Regions from separate parts of the Homo sapiens genome. Here region 2 is linked to region 1. Evidence: promoter capture Hi-C in 16 types of primary human blood cells and fetal thymus (Javierre and others, 2016). All regions are on one chromosome and are shown on one strand. The core of a region is centred on a gene start or on the middle of the fragment in contact, and the rest is flanking DNA. Distances in the headings are between cores, read along the strand shown.

What was found. The method cuts DNA at HindIII sites, captures the fragments that hold promoters and counts their contacts. A CHiCAGO score of 5 or more calls a contact.
Region 2: the fragment with the promoter of CYS1 here is called in contact with the fragment with the promoter of NOL10 in region 1 in 8 of 17 cell types (fetal thymus, naive B cells, activated CD4 T cells and 5 more); the score reaches 14.8 in fetal thymus.

The regions. Positions count from the first base shown.
Region 1 is chr2:10,687,745-10,694,344 of GRCh38, forward strand. It overlaps NOL10 (nucleolar protein 10), which reads right to left and starts at 2,231. Exons shown (of 21, transcript NM_024894.4): 1 at 2,052-2,231. The coding sequence starts at 2,117. It also overlaps the pseudogene RN7SL832P. RefSeq lists enhancers at 1,678-1,737, 1,798-2,077. The HindIII fragment of the contact is 7,879 bases long and covers 1-6,239 here.
Region 2 is chr2:10,079,007-10,085,784 of GRCh38, forward strand. It overlaps CYS1 (cystin 1), which reads right to left and starts at 1,405. Exons shown (of 3, transcript NM_001037160.3): 1 at 900-1,405. The coding sequence starts at 1,217. RefSeq lists silencers at 540-879, 950-1,189, 1,250-1,309, 1,480-1,719 and an enhancer at 3,964-4,023. The HindIII fragment of the contact is 11,698 bases long and covers 1-4,369 here.

The sequences.
Region 1 (6,600 bases), core at 981-3,480:
TCAGATCGAGACCATACCGGCCAACATAGTGAAACTCCGTCTCTACTAAAAATACAAAAATTAGCTGGTGTGGTGGCACGTGCCTGTAGTCCCAGCTACTGGGGAGGCTGAGGCAGGAGAATCGCTTGAACCCGAGAGGTTGCAGTGAGCCAACATCAGGCCATTGCACGCGACCTCAAAAAAAAATCTTGATTCTTTTTGCTCACTACGTTCCTCCTCTCCACCTTTCAATGTGTTCCTTCTTGATTCTTCTCCATGTCAGTTAGCAGCACCACCGTGCACCCACTTGTTCAGACTCAAAACTGAAGAGTTCTCTGATTCCTTCCTTTTTGTCACCTCAACTTCCCTCTACCAACAGTCCAATCCATTAGCAAGTTCCATTACCCTATCTACAAAGTATGTCCTGAATCTCACTGTGTTTTAGCATCTTCTTTGTTACCAGGCAAGCCCAAGCCACCGAAGTCGCTCACCTGGACTACCTAATTCATCCCGACTTGAACCCTCCCCAGCTAGACATTTGTCGCACAGCAGCCCACACAACAGTGACTTCCAGCAGCACTAAGAATAAAACTTGAACTTCCTACCTTTCCTACCAGGCCTACCTCTCCAGCCTCATCCACCCTGCTCTCGCCCCCTCACTCAGCATAGTGCAATCACACCTGTGCCTCTTCCGTCCTCCTACATGTCCAGTGCATTCCCATGTGGGGCTTTTGCACTTTCTGTTCTCAGCACTGAAAACTCTTCCCCACATCTTCACACGACTGGCTCCTCTTCATCATCCAAGTTTCTGCTCATATGTCACCTCTTGTAGAGAGGCCTTCCCCGAAGGTTTTATCCAAAACACTTTCTCTCAATATTTTATCCAAAACAGCTCTCTTCTAATCATTCACCACGAAAAGTACTTTTTGACTACCTTAAATTGCCTTATTTGCTCACTTGTTTATTTCCCTTTTCCCCAACAGGGAACCTTATCTGAAATGTCCACTATAGATCCCAATACTTAAAACAGAGTTGCTTGCACACAGTAACTTCTCAATACATGTGGAGAATGAATGAACAAAATGAGAAAGCTCATGGGGTGTGAAGAACAACTGGAAGACAGGGAATTATTCAAACCAGAATTTTAGGAAGAAAGGAAAAACCTAAGCACTGGCTCCAAATTTTTGTAGAAGCAGACGCATGGAAGGAGAGCTATATTTATTCTGTTTTCCAAGGGCAGGACTCAGGCCAACAGTGGCATGCTATAAGGTGACATATTTGAAAACCACTTTCTAACAAGTGCAGAGTCTCAAAATGGAAATGAGCTTCCACAAAAGGTAGTGCTCAGTGGTAGTGCTTGGACAGAGGCTGGATCATCACGTATAAGAAACAAAAGACAAGTTTCAGAGCCTAAGTGTGTCATGCTGGACAAGTCACCCTTCCCCTTGCTGGATCTCAGCTGCATATTAAACGCATTATTAAATCTCAGCTGCATTACTAAACACGAGAAGATTGGAAGAGAATTACCGACTTGTCCAAGCCCTCTCCAACTTTAAGACTAGGAATCAGGTTAAGTTCAACAAGTCTCGAAAATACTGTCCTCTACACCATAAATTCTGCAGATGCGAAGTCTGTATCTCCCTTGTTCACTGTTGTATCCCTAAGACCTGGCAAATGATAGGGACTCCACAAACAGCTGATGGCCATATGGGGGAGAGATGTGTCAACGAATCTGCCACGTTTTCCTCCTCGATGTACGGCAGGGACTGTGAACACCCAAAGAGGCCCAAATGGTTGCGTTCTCTGGAACAGAGAACTTTACAAAAGTTCCAGCAAAGCTCACTGACCCTGATTATCCCTTGGTCCAGTTTCTGGCGCGGTGACGGCAGTGTCCTTGTCTCCCAATGCCGACACCTCCCCCGGAAATTGTCAGCCGCCTCTGGGCCTCCCCGAGTCGGGGGGTGACCAGCGTCCAGCTAAAACAGAGGCTAGGGCCGAGGAGAGGGGCGGCTGCCCCACGAGGAGGACGACCCCCAAGAGCTCGAGAGTGAGGGGGCCGGGAAGTGACTCACCTCAGGAAGGGACTTGCCGCAGCTGAGGCTGTAAATCTTCACCTCATTGAGGCTGGAGACCTGCATGGCGCCGCACAACACTGTTCAAGTCCCGGGTCCTTTCCCACCAGCGTGCTCGAGCACCGTAATCCCGGGACCTCCGAGCCCCTGCTCCGCGGCGTGCGGCCGCTGGCGCCGACTGATGACGCACTTCCTGGAGCCGGAACACGCGGGCAAGTTCCCGGAAGAGGGAAGGTGGCTGAATCCGGGAAGAGCGGCGGCCGGGAGAAAAACTAGTGAGGCTCTGACAACCCGGCGTGGCTGTCGGCGACGCTGCTACGGGCAAGACTAGACACAAGCCGGGCGCGGTGGCTCACGCCTGTAATCCCAGCACTTTGGGAGGCTGAGGCGGGCGGATCACCTGAGGTCGGGAGTTCGAGACCAGCCTGACCAATATGGTGAAACCCCGTCTCTACTAAAAATACAAAAAAATTAGCCTTGCGTGGTGGCCGGCATCTGTAGTCCCAGCTACACGGGAGGTTGAGGCAGGAGAATTGCTTGAACCTGGGAGGCGGAGGTTGCAGTGAGCTGAGATCGCGCCGCTGCACTCCAGCCTGGGGGACAGAGCGAGATTCCCTCTCAAAAAAAAAAAAAAAAAAAAAAAAACTAGACACAGCTCTCCCTGCTGTTAGCATCCCGAGCGGCAGGAGGAGGCTTTCGAGTCTCTGCCCAGGCCGAGATGTCATCCTCCCGGGCGGGGGCGAGGCAGTTCAGCGAGTGAACCCAGCGAATGAAGGCGACCAGGGTGCGAATTCCGAGTGGAAGTGTATTCTCTTCTCTCCTCCAGTGTTTCTGCGATGTTACGTTAGAAGTACTGTAGGCCGGGTGCGGTGGCTCACGCCTGTAATCCTAACACTTTGGGAGGCCGAGGCGGGCGGATCACCTGAGGTCAGGAGTTCAAGACCAGCCTAGCCAAGATGGTGAAACCCCGTCTCTACTAAAAATACAAAAATCAGTCGGGCCTGGTGGCGCGCGCCTGTAATCTCAGCTACTCTGAAGGCTGAGGTGGGGGAATCGCCTGAACCCGGGAGGCAGAGGTTGCCGTCAGCTGAGATCGTGCCACTGCAGTCCAGCCTGGGCAACAGAGTGAGACTCCGTCTCAAAAAAAAAAAAAAAAAAAAAAGAAGACTGTGGCGTCATCTTCAACCCATTCCTATCTCTGGCCCTCACTTTCAGTATCTAAACCTGGATATTTCTAATTATGAAATATTTCCTTAAAGTAATCTGTTTTCATTCCTCCTGCTGAAACTCAAATACTTAACTATTTTTGGATTATAACTTTCCCAAGTGATCTTCTTACTTCCTTTGATTTAATGAACAAATTATTTTATGCCTTACTTTCTAAAACCCAAATATTATTGTTTTGCTCTCCTACCCACAACATTTTGGAAACTCTCAAATACCAACACCACATTGCATCAGAATTAGGTTGAGAGTTCTTCGTGGACCCTATATCATTTGTCCTTATATTCCCTATCCACCCCATCCACCCCTACCCAGAGTACCAGAACAGTGCCTGGCCTCTATTAGGCATTGCTACATATTTACATTTAGCCATGTACGTAGGGATATATTCCTTAACTCTGTCCTCAAATTTAAGATCCTCCACAAATTTTTAATTTTCTACACTGGTTACAGTTAAGAAAAACTGTAAACATCTTTGGGAAAGGTGGCATAATAGAATGGTTAGATCACAGACTCTGGCTTGGCTTGGTGGTGCAGGCCTATTGTCCTAGCTACTAGTGAAGCCGAAGCAGGAGAATCACTTGAGCCCAGGAGTTCTTGGCTGTAGCACGCAACGAGCGTTGGGTGTCCTCAGTTTGGCATCAATATGGTGACCCCACAAGAGCCAGGGACCACCATGTTACCTAAGGAGGTGTGAAGCGGCTCAGGTCAGAAATGGAGCAAGTCAAAACTCCCATGCTCACCAGTAATGGGATCATGCCTGTGACTAACACTGTACTCCAGCTTGGGCAACACAGCAAGACCCTATCTCTTGAAAAATAAATAAAGATCACAGACTCTGAAGCCAGACTGGCAAGATTCAAATCCCGACTGCCATTTTTAACTGAAAGACCTTAGGTAAGTTACCTAACCTCTCTGTACCTGTGTAAAATGGAGATAACAGTAGTATCCACTTCACAGAGTTATGAGGATGAAATACATTCATATTTATAAAACGTTTGGAACCCAGTACTTGGCACATAGTAAGACCATGTAAGTGTTTGTAAAATAAAACTGAAAATAAAGCCATATACCAAATAAGTGGAAATGTATCCAAATTCCATTAACATTTCCTTTTTAACAGTTTTATTGAGATATAATTAACATACTGTAAAATGTCCCCATTGAATGTACAATGTAATGACTTCTAGTGTATTCAGAGTTCTGCAACCATCACCACAATCATTTTTAGAACAAAAAGAAACCCCAGCCTCAATTAGCATTCACTCCATGCCCCATCCCCCACCCAAGCCCTAGACAACCACTAATCTACTTTCTGTTGGCGTTGTGGGTTTTTTCCATGGGGGCATCTCACTTTGTTGTCCAGGTTGGAATACAGTGGCATGATCATGACCCACTGCAGCCTCAAACTCGAGCTCAAGCTGTCCTTCCACCTTATCCTCCTGAGTAGCTGGGAGTACAGGCACACCACCAGAGCTGGCTGTTTTGTTTTTATAGAGATGGGTCTACCAGTTAAGCATCCCTAATCCAAACATTTCAAGTCCGAAATGCTCCAGTGAGCATTTCCTTTTGAGCATCACATTGACATTCAGAAAGTTTCAGATTTTGGAGCATTTTAGATTTTGGATTTTCAGATTAGGGATACTCAACCTGTATTTTGTAAGGGCACCAATCCCATTCATGAGAGCTCTGCCCTTAAGACCTAATCATGGGCTGAGCACGGTGGCTCACGCCTGTAATCCCAGCACTTTGGGAGGCCAAGGCAGGCAGATCACGAGGTCGGGAGTTCAAGACCAGCCTGGTGAACATAGTGAAACCCCTGTCTCTACTAAAAATGCAAAAATTAGCCGGGCATGGTGGCACGCACCTGTAGTCCCAGCTACTCAGGAGGCTGAGGCAGGAGAATTGCTTGAACCCGGGAGGCAGAGGTTGTGGTGAGCAGAGATGGCGCCACTGCACTCCAGCCTGGGCAATAGACCGAGACTCCGTCTCAAAAACAAAAACAAACAAACAAAAAAAAACTAATCATGACCAGGCGCAGTAGCTCATACCTCTAATCCCAGCACTTTGGGAGGCTGAGGCGGGCAGATCACTTGAGGCCAGGAGTTCTAGACCAGCCTGGCCAACACAGCAAAACCCTGTTTGTACTAAAAATACAAAAATTAGCCAGGTGTGGTGGTTGGCACCTGTAGTTCCAGCTAATCTGGAGGCTGAGGCACAGGAATCGCTTAAACCCGGGAGGCGGAGGTTGCAGTGAGCCAAGATTGTGCCATTGCACTCCAGCCTGGGCAACAAGAGTGAAACTCCGTCTCAAAAAAAAAAAAAAGGCTGGGCATGGTGGCTCATGCCTATAATTCCAGCACATTGGGAAGCCGAGGAGGACAGATCATGAGGTCAAGAGATCGAGACCATCCTGGCCAACATGGTGAAACCCCATCTCTACTAAAAATACAAAAATTAGCTGGGCATGGTGGCACACACCTGTAGTCCCAGTTACTGAGGTGGCTGAGGCAGGAGAATCGCTTGAACCCAGGAGGTGGAGGTTGCAGTGAGCCAGGAGGTGGAGGTTGCAGTGAGCCAAGTTTGCGCCACTGTACTCCAGCCTGGCAAAAGAGCGAGACTCTGTCTCAAAAAACAAAAAAACAGAAAAGTGAGTTTACGCCATAAATCACTGATTTCAGGACATTCATTTTTTTTTAGCATCTCTGAAAGGATGAGTCTAGTGTATCGTGCATATCTTGAGGGAATGGTGCATCTTATAGGTAATGGTCTTTTAGAGTCAATAAAATAAAGTGCATATAAAGCACTTAGAACAGTGCCTTACACAGAACACTACATAAGTGCTAGTTATTAGAAAACCAAAACATTAAAAACTATTCCAGAAAAACTAGTTGTTACAGATTCCAACTAACCTTAAATGTTCTGCTGTTAGTTGCCATTCCAGAAACCTTCAAATAACATTCAAGCTTGCTCTCCTAAATTTTTTTTTTTTTCTGAGACAGTGTCTCACTCTGTTGCCCAGGCTGGAGTGCAGTGGCGGGATCTCAGCTCACTGCAACCTCTGCCTCCCGGGTTCAAGCGATTTTCCTGCCTCAGCCTCCTGAGTAGCTGGGATCACAGGCGCATGCCACCATGCCTGGCTAATTTTTTAGGCTAATTTTTGTATTTTTAGTAGAGACGGGGTTTCACCATGTTGGCCAGGCGGGTCTCGAACTCCTGACCTCAGGTGATCCTCCCACCTCAGCCTTCCGAAGTGCTGGGATTACAGGTGTGAGCCACCGCGCCTGGCTCCTCTCCTAATTCTTTACCTCCATGGCCAGTAGGT
Region 2 (6,778 bases), core at 155-2,654, 610 kb before region 1:
ACTGCAGGCTGATGTGGTATTAAAGGAATCTTGTTATATAATTCAGCCCTACTCACTGCAGCTCGCTTTTCCTCTTTAAAGACCGTAAGGGAGAGGAGCAGGGAACCAGGGCCAGAGGGAGAGAGCTCTGTGCACTGTCGCCTGGGGCTGTCCCTCTCCCCCACCCTCCCTGGGGCCTTTTCAGGATTCCTTGGTGCGGTAGCCACCCAGGAAGGCATCTTCCTCGGCTCCCAGCGGCTGCTAAGCAAAGCCTCCCGGGCCTCAGGGAGGAGGACGAGGCCCTTGGCATCCTCCCCGAGCCCGGGAGCGGATGTTAAAGATCTTGTTCATTCAGCTCTGCTGGAGCGAAGACGGTTGCCAAACCAGAGTGCTTGTTTTATTGTTTTTTTAGAACAGCAGGACTGTTATTACGAGTATTCAGGGAGAGAGAATAGGAAGCGCAAAAGAGATTCCGCAGCATCCTAAAAATATCAGTAACATGAGAATTGCCTGCCCAGCAAGGCAAGGATCTGGACCGGTGGGCGCGGCAGGGCGCTTCTGAGCCACCGTCTGGCTGCCGTGCCACCACCGCCGGCGCCCCGCTCCAGGGCGGCCCGGGAAGGCCAGGCGGGGCCGCGGGCCCGAGGGGAGCCGGGAGCCCGGCGCGCTCCGCCTAGGGGTGTCCTTCCTCGGCCGCTCCCAGCGCGATCGCCCCCACGCCTGGACACAGACCCGGAGACGGGGCAGAGAGGGAGGAAACCTGGGGGCCCAGGGGCGGGGAGGCCGGGGCAGCGGGGAGCACGCAAGTCGGAGGCTGGAAGGGGGCGCAGCGCGACCGGCGCCCAGGGCTGGGGCGGGGACGCGCGGCCGGTGAGTGGGGTCCCCGCCGTCCCCCGAGGCCCTGCGGCTCCCACACTCACCGCGCTCCCCGCGACCGCGGTGGGTCGGAGCCGGGCTGGGCGGCGCGGGGCGGGCTCCGGGGGGCCCCAGGCCGCCGACTCGGCCAGCAGCTCGTCCAGCAGGCGCAGCGTCTCGTCCCTGCCGTCGGGGGGCGCCACGGGGCTGGGGTCGCGGCCGGGCGCCTCCTCCGCGGCTGCCCCCGGGACCTCGGCCGCCGCCACCGGCACCCGCCGGCGGGTCCCGCCCTCCAGGGCTGCCGCTCCGGGCCCCGCGGGGAGGCTCTCGGGGCTGCGCCGCCGCCTCAGAGTCCGGCTGCTCCGGCTGCTGCCGCTGCCCATGGCGCGCCCGCCGCCTCCCGGACCGCCGAGGGGGCCCCCATGAGGGGGCGCGGCCGGGGGCGGGGACGCTAGGGGGTGCGGCCGGGGCGGGCTGCAGGGGGAGGCGCGGGGCGAGGTCCGGGAAGCGACCGCGGCCAGGGGCTAGGGTTCCCGGGCGGGGGTCGCGGCCGGAGGACGGGGGTGCGAGCCGGAGCCTGGGGAGGGGCGGGCGAGGCAGGGCTGCATAGGCGTCCCGAGGGGGCGCACACCGGCCCTAGGGAGGGGCGGGCCCGAGACCCCGGCGAGGAGCACCGGGTGCGGGCGCGGCCTCCCCTCCCGGGTCTCCCCCTACAGTCCCCCCACTCCCGCCCACGGGTCCCCTCGCTCCCCGCCGTCGGGTCAGCCCTGTCCCGGCCTTCTGGAATTGCTGAACCCTGCGGGGGGCCCGGCTGAGTTTGTTCATTTATGGAAACGCTCCCCAGACGACGCTCGCCGGGCCCGTGGGAGGCCGCGGGAGCTTGGGGGGACTTCCCAAAGCCTGAGCCCCCTAGCGATGCGCGGGGTGGGCGGGGGAAAGACCCTGAGGGCTGCGCGCGCTGCGTTCGCGAGGTCCGGCCGTCAGTGCGCCCCGACCTTTCAGTGTCCGCCAGGCCTGAGACGCCCCGGGAGGGAAGGGGCGATCCTCCGGGCACCAACAGCCCCCTCCGGCCTTCTCCTTCCCTCTGTTGCCCCAGCGGAGACTGGATGTGTGAAGGTTGAGCCTCATCAAAACCTCCAAATAGTCACTACTTTTGGGAAAGAAAAACTTTGAAAATGAAGGAGAAAGGCAAAGCAACCCCCACCTCGCCCTCCCCCCGCCACAGGAAAGAAGCAAAAGGAAATACCTAGGTGGTGGTCATAAGTCTAGCTTTTGGTCTCGGATTTTTTTTTTTTTTCCCTTAACCGCTTTTCTTTTTAAGTGAACTAACCACAACCCAGACTAGAAAACACTCCAAAGCTGCCGAATTCAAACCCAGCGAGCCTTCCTGTTGGTTGGTTCTGTGTTTTACTTAAATGTGATTACTTCCTTCCCTTGCCCACCTCCTGCAACTTTAAATTCCAGCCTTTCCAAGACAGGGCAATTCAAAAGTCCTGGGTTTAACTCACCTATCTTGACTTGACATTAACTTTTATCCTGATTGATTGGATTCCAGAATAATTGTGAAAATGGAATTTCGGCTAAACTTTCCCAACCACAGACTTGAAATTCTACTATTTTATCACTTCAGGAGTAGACATTAAAAAACATATGCCTAAGAAAATGGAATAAAAATGGGACTCAGATTCACATCCATTTATTTTTATTATTAAGAGAGAACAAGAGGCCGGGCGCGGTGGCTCACGCCCGTAATCCCAGCACTTTGGGAAGCCGAGGCAGGTGGATCACGAGGTCAAGAGACCGAGACCATCCTGGCTAACACGGTGAAACACCGTCTCTACTAAAAATACAAAAAATTAGCCGGGCGTGGTGGCGGGCGCCTGTAGTCCCAGCTACTCAGGAGACTGAGGCAGGAGAATGGCGTGAACCCGGGAGGTGGAGGTTGCAGTGAGCCGAGATCGCGCCACTGCACTCCAGCCTGGGCGACAGAGTGAGGCTCGTCTCAAAAAAAAAAAAAAAAAAAAGAACAAGAAAGTATTTATAATCTAGCTGGACGTGGTGGCTCATGCCTGTAATCCCAACACTTTCAGAGGTTGAGGCGAGCAGATCACTTTAGGTGAGGAGTTTGAGACCAGCCTGGCCAACATGGTGAAACTGTCTCTACTAAAAATACAAAAATTAGCTGGGCATGCTCACTTGAACCCAGGAGGTGGAGGTTGCAGTGAGCCGAGATCACGCCACTGCACTCCAGCCTGGGCAACAGAGCTGGACTCTGTCTCAAAAAAAAAAAAAGAAAGAAAGAAAAGAAAAGAGAGAGAGAAGAGAGGTGAGACAGAGAGGGAAAAGAAAAAGAAGAGAAAAAAAATGAGGCTGTAATCCCAGCACTTTAGGAGGCTGATGCGAGCGGATCACTTCAGGTCAGGAGTTCGAGACCAGCCTGGCCAATAGGATGAAACCCTGTCTCTACTACAAATACAAAAATTAGCCGGGCATGGTGAAGGGCACCTGTAGTCCTAGCTGCTCGGGAGCCTGAGGCAGGAGTCACTTGAACCCGTTAGGCGGAGGTTGCAGTGAGCCGAGATCGCACCACTGTACTCCAGCCTGGGCAACCAAAGAGACTCCGTCTCAAAAAAAAAAAAAAACAAAACAAACAACAACAACAACAAACAATAAAGAAAAAGCAAAAAGAAAAGAAAAAAAATTTTTTAAAGGGAAGTATTTATGATCCCCCCTGCCTTTTTTTTGAGACGGAGTCTCGCTCTGTTGCACAGGCTGTAGTGCAGTGGCCGGATCTCTGCTCACTGCAACCTCCGCCTCCCGGGTTCAAGTGATTCTTCTGCTTCAGGCTCCTGAGCAGCTGGGATTACAGGCACGCACCACCACATCCGGCTAATTTTTGTATTTTTAGTAGAGACAGGGTTTCACCATGTTCGCCAGGCTGGTTTTGAACTCCTGACCTCAGGTAATCCACCTGCCTTGGCCTCCCTAAGTGCTGGGATTACAGGCGTAAGCTACCGTGCCTGGCCTCTCCCCCCCTTTTTTTTGATGTGCCATCTTAACCATCCAGGTGTAGGATGTGGGGCCAAACACAGATGTCATTTGGGTGCGCTAAGTCTACAGATGTGTCTCGTTTGGAAGCTATTGATATAAGTTTTTAAGAAAACAAATCTCATCTTGAAACTCTTTAAACCCCAAAGAACAACAACACTTAGAGGCAAACGAGATTTTTCTTGAGTTCACTCAGTTTAATGATTTAAAGGAAAACATGTTTTGCTTCTGCCTAAATAGAAGCTAGTCATGTGACTCATGTTTAAATACATCCACAGCTCCCTGTGTTCACCTCCCAGGGCAACCAATTTTTCTGGCCACTCTTGATTCCAACACTGTTTCCCAAAACTTGTCATTAGCTCCGCTTCAGCGGGAGGAATGCCAGAGCCAGCATTCTTTCCACTTTGAGAGAACATTTTAAAATCTGCTACATTTGTAGACCTGGCTTCCATCAAATATGCTGAAAACTCAGATTGATTTTATTAGAAGCTTCCCATAATAAGCAAACAACCTAAAAGCTTTCCGCATGACTAATGTCCCTAAGATCGTCTCTAGAATTTTTGTCCGAAAGAGTTAGCAACGTCTCAGGAATATTGGAGAACTGAAATGGGGTGTAATCCTTCTTAAGAAAATATCTGGCAGTCACACCTGCAGCTGAAGGATTCTTTTATGCGGTGATAGTGCTCGTGGGTGCTGGTGATGGTGGGTGGAAGGTGAAGCCCAGTTTGGGAACTCTCTGCTTAACTCTGGGAAAATAGAACTTCCTTTCCTTAAACAAATTAAACCCTGGAAGAGGACTACAGTTGGTGATACTTTTCGGAAGGACTCGGGCGCCCGAACGATGTTTTCCTTGGTTTCAGGAGTAGCCAGGCATCTACTGCAGATGAAGCCAGTTCCTCCCACCACGACTCATGGACCAGTCATTACAATAGCCTGCCAAACCAACCCACCTTTCAAAACCCCACTCCAGGGCCCCTGCTTCAGGACTCGCAGATCTACTCTCCCTGCTCAGATATCCTGCAGTTTCCCACCAATCATGGCACTCCCAAGCCGTTACGTAAGAAAGATGTGTTGTGCAGGTGCTGGTTCTTATGAATATGCAGACAGATAATATTTGCATTTGGGTGATAAATGAGACGGCATTTGAAACATAAGCAAGCCATGTTTCTATTTTTAATGCTTAATCGGTAACTTGAGAGAGCCACAGTGCTATTAACGAATGCTGATATGTTTGGACAGCAGCAGCCCACATAATTGCTATTGTCTTTTACCAAAGTGTCCAAGCTTTTGTATTTGGTTTCATGGTTTCGGCATCAAGAGGGGAAAACAAAATATAAGGGTGAATCACCATTATTCATTAAGGACAATTAATGAGTTACAGAACTTTTTTCAATATTTACTCAGAAATAAGATACATGAGGTCCTTAGGGTTGGCAGGTCCAGGTCATGGCTGATTTGGTGCGTTCTATAACACTGTAAAAAATTCTGACAGTAAAATGACAATGACTTGTACCCCATCTAAACAAAAGGTTTAGCACTGGAATTTACGATGCATACTTTCCATGACTAGAGCAGTTCTCGTTTAGAGGCATCTCATGGCTTCTGGCTCAAAACAGCAGACCGGGTGCAGAGTTGCCTTCTCTTGGTACTTGCGACTTTGCTGGAATTAAGATAAAAGAAAAAGGGATAGAGGAGGAGTTGTAAGAAGGAGGGAAATCACAAAGGAGAGGTTTCAACGCATTTCTGAAAGATGGAAAACTGACAGTAGAGAGCTGCCAGATGACACAGGCTGAGCAATTGCAGTCTATGCCATGATGACAGACGCTGGAGAGGAAACGGGGTCAATGGACTGACAGATGAGACTCCGGGACACAGTCAGCGGGTATAAAAGGAGATGGGAGTGAGAAGTGGGCATCGGACCTAAGGAGCGATTAAGATCTTTACATGGGACAAGGGCATCATCCCCCACTGACTCCTGCTTATATTTAAGAAAAAAAAATGACCAGGTAGCTGATGTGGTTTCACTCCGCTGCCATGTGTATAAGACTCTTTTCCCATTGGATTTTTACTCCGGCTAGGAATTTAGACCGGGGGGCGGGGGGTGGTGGGTTTGTGGGGTGGGGTGGGGTGGACAGGCTTCGATTAGCTGAGCAGGCAGGAAGCTGGCCGCCTTGAACTGGAGCTACTTGAGGTTCAGGTGCCCATCCCTGGCCCACTGAGTAAGACGATGTTTGTGTGGGACTGTCCTGTCTCCAGGGGCAATGCACACAGCAGCTGAGAAAGATCCAGTACAGTGTCCACAGCCGCTGGCCTCAGTGAACGTAAGCTTCCTTCTCCTTGCAAATCTGCTACACAAAGTGATCTGTGAGCTGACTCCCCTGTCCATGAACCCACAGTTTTGAGTGTGAGATTTGGAGGCCACTCAAAACATACTTGGACCCTAGGCTTTGGTGGGGTCATTTATCATCCTGAGGACAAGGTTTGAGGGGAGAGGGAGGGCAGTGCTGGGAAAGGGAATTGAGTCTGTGTAAATTTGACCATTAACGTGTAATATTTATTACAGAGGTTAACCTTTAAATACTGTTGGCTAAAAAGAGTGTGCAACAAACATAAAATGTCCAACTTTAAGCTCAAACCCCCCACTGTGAATATCAACTTCTCTAATGTGGAAGCTGCCTGGTGGGGGTGGTCACCTCTGCACACGAACATCCCATGGTCCCAGACACCTGGGAAGATGCTTAAGTTCCTTCTTCTCATTAGAGAGCTGAGAACCAACCAGTCAATTAATCAGCTCAAAGGAATAGAGTGCTGTAGTCAAGGCCCAGGTTAAATATTAAAAGCGTCTCTTAGCTCTTTAATTTGTAGCTGTTTAACTTGGTAAGTGGAGTTGAAGTCC